Regions from separate parts of the Homo sapiens genome. Here region 1 is linked to region 2. Evidence: promoter capture Hi-C in 16 types of primary human blood cells and fetal thymus (Javierre and others, 2016). All regions are on one chromosome and are shown on one strand. Each heading gives the region's core, a stretch centred on a gene start or on the middle of the fragment in contact. The rest is flanking DNA. Distances are from core to core; before and after follow the strand shown.

Region 1 (2,723 bases), core at 81-2,580, 130 kb before region 2:
TGACTCCCACTCTACAGCTCCATCCACAACCTGACCCTCAGCTTCCGGTTCTATGAGATCACTCAACTTGGATGTCCTGCAACCCACAGTCACGTTGTTTTTAGCTCTCTGTGTCTAAAAAGCAACTCCTTTCCAAACTGTCTCTTCAAACTTCCTAATTTCTGGTTAATGTCACCAATATTCTCCAAACTCAAAACCAGCACACATCCTCAGTCTGGTAAGGCTGCCCTGCCTACAAACCCCACCACACCCCTTCCCACGGCCATTCCTTTGCTGATGCTGTACCTTGCCTCCTGAAAAGCCCTCTCTGGTGTTCTGTCAACTCACAGCCTGCTCATCCTTGAGACAAGGTCAGGTTCTGCTTCCTTTGTGAAGTCTTGTCTTTTTTTAATAGAGATTGGCCCTTACTCTGCCACCCAGGCTGGAGTGCAATGGCATGATCATAGTTCACTGCAGCCTCAAACTCCTGGGCTCAAGCCATCCTCCTGCCTTGGCTTCCCTAGTAGCTGGGACTATAGGTATATGCCACCATGCCCGGCTAATTTAAAAACAATTTTTGTAGATGGGGTCTCGCTATGTTGCTGAGGCTGGTCTTGAACTCCTGGCCTCAAGTGATCCTCCCCCCTTGGCCTCCCAAAGTGTTGGTATGACAGGCGTGAGCCATTGCACCTAGACTGAAGTCTTTTCTGATTACTCCAGTTCACAATGATTATTTTCCTCTCAGCATCCTTTTGGAATTTAGACTCTGTAGTACCAGTGACACCCAATGCACTGTTCTTTTCATTTCTTTTGCCTCTCTTCCTCAGCTGTCCTCTGATGAGTCTCCACATCAACCTGCACACCCAGCTCCAGTGTGTCTTCATCTCTGAAGTCTTTCTGGTTCTCACAGGCTCAGGGTGACTCTTCCTTCTGGCTTACCAAAGCACCCTTTCCCATAGCTGATAAGGTTCCATCCCCTCATGTTACAGTGACATACAGTTTTGTGTCCAACTCTTTTGCCAGAATATTAGCTGAATTCCTTAAGGGCTGACACTGTGTCTTATAGAATAAGGCACCAAAGATGTGTTTCTGACATGCAATATTGTCATATGCACTAATCATTCCATATATCCATCTTGTCTTCCACACACATTACAGCCTCCTCATGGACAAGGGTTGAGTCTCATTTCCTTTATATCCCATAGTGACTAACAATACAAAACAGAGAAAGGGCTTGATGAAGAATACGTGCTGAGAGCATGCTTACATGTCTTGTGAAGATGATATGCAAATTTATATGAATAATCTGTAAACCTGGGAACTATACTTTTGGGGTAATAGAAGTCTTATCAAGTTGTCTCAAGACACTGTACCTTGCTATTTTGGGGCCAGCATAACACATCTCTGTACTTAGCAGTGATCCTGTCACTTAAGAGTGTTAATAGGATGCCTAAACTGAGAGCTTTCAGCTATGAGCTCTAAGCATCTAAAATCAGAACAAATCAAGGACCAAATCAGAGTCCCAGGTAAGTGTCAATAACCTTCAGGGAAGCGGGTGGGGGTGGAGGGTGGCTGGCTGCCAAGAGTCTGGTGCTGCGGAAAGGCCTGGCTACACAGCACACATTATGCCACTGGAGATAAGCCTGCGTGAAACACTCCTCACATGGGAAAGGTATCTAATTTCATCTAGTGGTCTAAGACCTGCCCCTTTCACATGGCAACACACACCTTAGACCCAACTATGATCTTGCTGACTCAGAAGCAGTTAAGATTTCATTTCTTACCAGTCAGAGAACACCATATAAATTACAAGGTGACCAGGACCACAATGCCCTCAAGATAAGATGACTGTTTCTCCCACAATCACTCTCTCCGAGTGGTGGAGTCTCTCCAGCCAGCCATACCCAAAGACTTGCTCACTAATAATTCCAGCAGCAGGGAAGGCCTCCACCCCATCTAGGACAAGTATTTGGGTAGCCAGACCATTTGGAGGAAGAGGCAGATCCTGCTTAGCAAACATTTATCACAGCACAGTTCGAGCTATGTGACAGGCCATATGTTCTTCAACTCGAAGTCCCGGATCCTCAGGAGGAGGCCAAAGTGCCCCTTTCTCAGTGCTCAGAGCTGGGCAGACTCCACCACTGGTTGAAGGCAGGTATCAGTCCACTGGACTGGGCCATCTAGGCAATGTACAGTGTGTGTGTGTGGATGGGAAAGATGAGGCCAGAGGACAGCTGCCCGGCCAGGCCCTACCAACACAGTCAGCAGCTCCATGGACCTGGTGTGGCACAGGGGGAGTGGCCTAGCCTATGTCTACATAGGGCTCTGCCCATCGGGTGGCCACAGGTGGGCACCCAACCCTCTCTATCCCTGGAAGGAAAAAGGGCCTCTGAGCTCATGGCTGAACGGAAGGTGACAAAGGGCAAAGGGAGGAAGGCAACTGTAGTGGGCCTGGGCAGAGTCTTTTGAAACAGACAATTCAGACAGGTGCACATCCACACCAAAAAATGAGCAAAACCCTCAAAAAAGGCCCCTGGAACACTGGAGAACTGGGAATACAGAGAATCTGAAAAGACACCTGGGAAAAGAAGGCCACCCAAAACAGAGCCCTGTGGTATACAAGGTTTTACTAAAACCTTCCGATACATGTAAACAGTAAAAGGAAGAGGCAAAGAAGACTCTAAAGATTGCTCTACTACATGGAATCTAGAAGTCACTGGTTTTAAAATGTCATAATTAAGTTA
Region 2 (2,715 bases), core at 199-2,698:
CGTGGGCGCCGCGGAAGATCACAAAACCCTAAGCGAGTCGCTACCGGCTGGTTTCAAGCCTGGAGACAAAGCTCCTCACCAAGCCAGCCCAGCCCGGTCCCGGATCTGCCATCCTGGGTCCCTAACCCCGGTCCGAGGGCCACGCCCAGCCGGCCACCTGGGCCGCGGGGCCCCGCGCCTGGAGCTGAGGATCCTCGGGCCCGAGACCGCCTCTCAGCTGCTTGCCCCTCCCTCCTCGGGAGGCTCCCCTTCCCAGGAGGCCCCCCTCCCCCGCACAGCGCGGGTCTTCTCCTCGCTCCCGTCCTCCCTCCTCAAACCCAGGCGGCCTCCACCCGCCTGCATCCCTCCTCCCCTCCCCATTCTTCAGCAGAACCAGCCTCGCCGGGCGCCACCTGCACCGAGCTCCTTCCCTCGTTCTTCGGACCCGCCCCCGCCCCTTCTCTTTCCTCCTCAAACCCTAGTTCCCACTCCCTGCTCCCCGAGACCCACTACCTGTCCTAACCCAGCTCCCCAGCCTTCCCCATCCCCATCTTTTCTCAACCGAGGCCTCCCCTCGCCCTCTCCCGGCTTCTCTCCAGCTCAGACTACAGCCCCGTCCCCAGGCCCGGGGCGTCGACGTCGGTGCCCGCTGAGATCGATGCTGCAAGGCGGGCTCCCGCGCTGGGCTCCAGCCGAGGGACCCGGCTCGGCGCCCGCTCCGGGCTGGGCAGCCGCAGGAGGCCTTTGTGGCTCAGGCGGGAGGCTCGGAGGCGGCGGGCGAGTCCTCTGCAGGCGTCCGCTCCGTTAGCCGGGCGGTGGAACAGACCGCCGGGTCGGGTCCAGGCTGGGCAGATCCCAGCTCGGAGGCGAGAAGGACGGAGGGTGTGTATCTGGGTGGTGTGTGGGACCGGGGACAGCGCAGATCCTGGGACCGGCAGGACTGGCCCCCGGCCAGAGGCGCCCCCGCCCAGCCCTCCAGCGGTCCACTGCACCGCGCCCGGCTAGGAAAGCGGCCCACTGCGTGCTAGGCGCGAAACCCCTCGGCCGAGCCGCCTCCTCACCCCAGGGCTTTGCAACCCCGCGAGCACGCATTAAACGCTTACTATGAGCAAGGCCCGGCACGGCGCTTCGCGGGCGTACAAAGAGGACCCCAAGAGCGCCCCGGCTTAGCCCCGATGGCCACCTCCCAACCCCAAACCACACCTCCCGCCGCGTCCCCTGCGGCCGGGCCCCAGGCTCACCCGGCTCCCCGCCCTTTTGTGCGCCTCACGCAGAAACAGAAGGGGGAGAGGAGGATGTCCTAGCCCGGGAGGGGTAAGCCCACCGACCCCCCTGCCATCACCCACTCCTCCGAGATGCTGCGGCCGCGGGGGCCCGTGGCTCGGTCCGTCTCCGTCTCGCCGCGGCGCCGGAGCTGCGGGTGCTCGGGGCGGCGGCGGCTGCACGCGCGCTCGCTCGGGGGCCGCCTCAGCGCGCCCAGCGCGGGAGTCCAGAGTGGGGAGCGGGGGAGGGGCGCGTGTCGGGGGCTGGGAGCGGCCTCCGCCAATCACCGCGCGGCCGGCTCCTCCCGCCGCTCCCCACCTCAGCTAGCAGGTTAAGGGGAGGCGGGGACAGGCGGCGTCCCGCATCCTTGGCGCCGCGCGCCGCCGCCGCCTGGGGACTACAACTCCCGGCAGGCCCTGCTGCAGGGCCGGGGTCCGAGAGCGGACGGAGGGCGCGGCCGGAGAACTCACCGACCCCCCTAGCACCCGGCTCCGCGTTCCCTCGGGTTTCCATGGCGACTCAGGACACCACAAAGCCTGGACGCGCTGAGGCACGGGTCCCCAGGGAGGGCCGGGGGCGGTTCCGGAGGACACCCCGCCTCCCCTCCCCCAGCTGGATCCCACCCCAGGGGCTGAAACAATGCCGCGGCCGCCTCTCCCGGGCTGCGGCCGCGCTGCCCTCCGCCGCAGGACCCCGCCGAGGCCGCCTGGTTCGCGCCAAGACCCGCTCCGACGCCCGCGGGATTGCGGGATGCAAAGGGCCGGGTGGGCGTTATAGGAAAACTGTTCTCATGAACAAAGTGGACGGCCACTTGGGGCCACCGCAGTTCGCATCTGCACCCGGGGAGGTCTCGAACCCGGAGTGCGTTCTCTCCACTGAGAAGATTTTGCCCAGCGCCACGCGGGTGCTTCCCTGTCCAGAGCGCTCAGGCCCAGTGCCTGTCTTATTTCTGGCTTCTGTCAAGGGACAGCGAAGCCTTTGGAAATTATTTATAACCCAATTTACATTCGCTTCACCTGTTTCTTCATGTTTAAATACATACATAATTTACCAAAATAAACAAATCTAAAAAAGGAGAGGAAGGATCATCCCCGGTTTGTCCCACCTCCCTAGCTAATCCCGGTTCAAGCCTTTGCCATTGATCTGTGTTATTTTCTGCAGTTGTAATAATAGTTTGGATTAGTCATTTGCCTCTTTGCACTTAATGTCACTCCAAAGGCGTTGCGATGCGCGTTAAAATGCAGCATCAAGGACCTCCAAGCTGCAGCTGCAGAATCCCTCCCTCCCCGGGCTCCCCGGCGATCCGGTGGGGAGAGGAGTCCCCTGGCAGCCATGGCCTCGTGAGGTGGTTCTCTTTGCAGGATACTTTCAAACAAAATGGTGTTCACTACTCCGGGGGCGTGGAGGGGGTCCCCTCTCCCCATCTCAGCAAAATCTACCCGGGCGCAGGACCCGCAGAGCCCGCCAAGGCGG

The links. Contacts are between HindIII fragments. The CHiCAGO score rates a contact against its expected background, and 5 or more counts as called.
Region 1: a contact is called between a fragment that was not itself captured here and the fragment with the promoter of DPYSL5 in region 2, in 1 of 17 cell types (megakaryocytes). The highest score is 6.6, in megakaryocytes.

The regions. Positions count from the first base shown.
Region 1 is chr2:26,977,256-26,979,978 of GRCh38, reverse strand. The region is part of intron 1 of MAPRE3 (microtubule associated protein RP/EB family member 3); the gene reads right to left. Among named protein-coding and RNA genes, the nearest start is that of MAPRE3, 8.0 kb to the right of the region's middle. The HindIII fragment of the contact is 2,833 bases long and covers 1-2,723 here.
Region 2 is chr2:26,846,865-26,849,579 of GRCh38, reverse strand. DPYSL5 (dihydropyrimidinase like 5) reads right to left here and starts at 1,448. Exons shown (of 13, transcript NM_020134.4): 1 at 1,326-1,448. The HindIII fragment of the contact is 4,603 bases long and covers 1-2,715 here.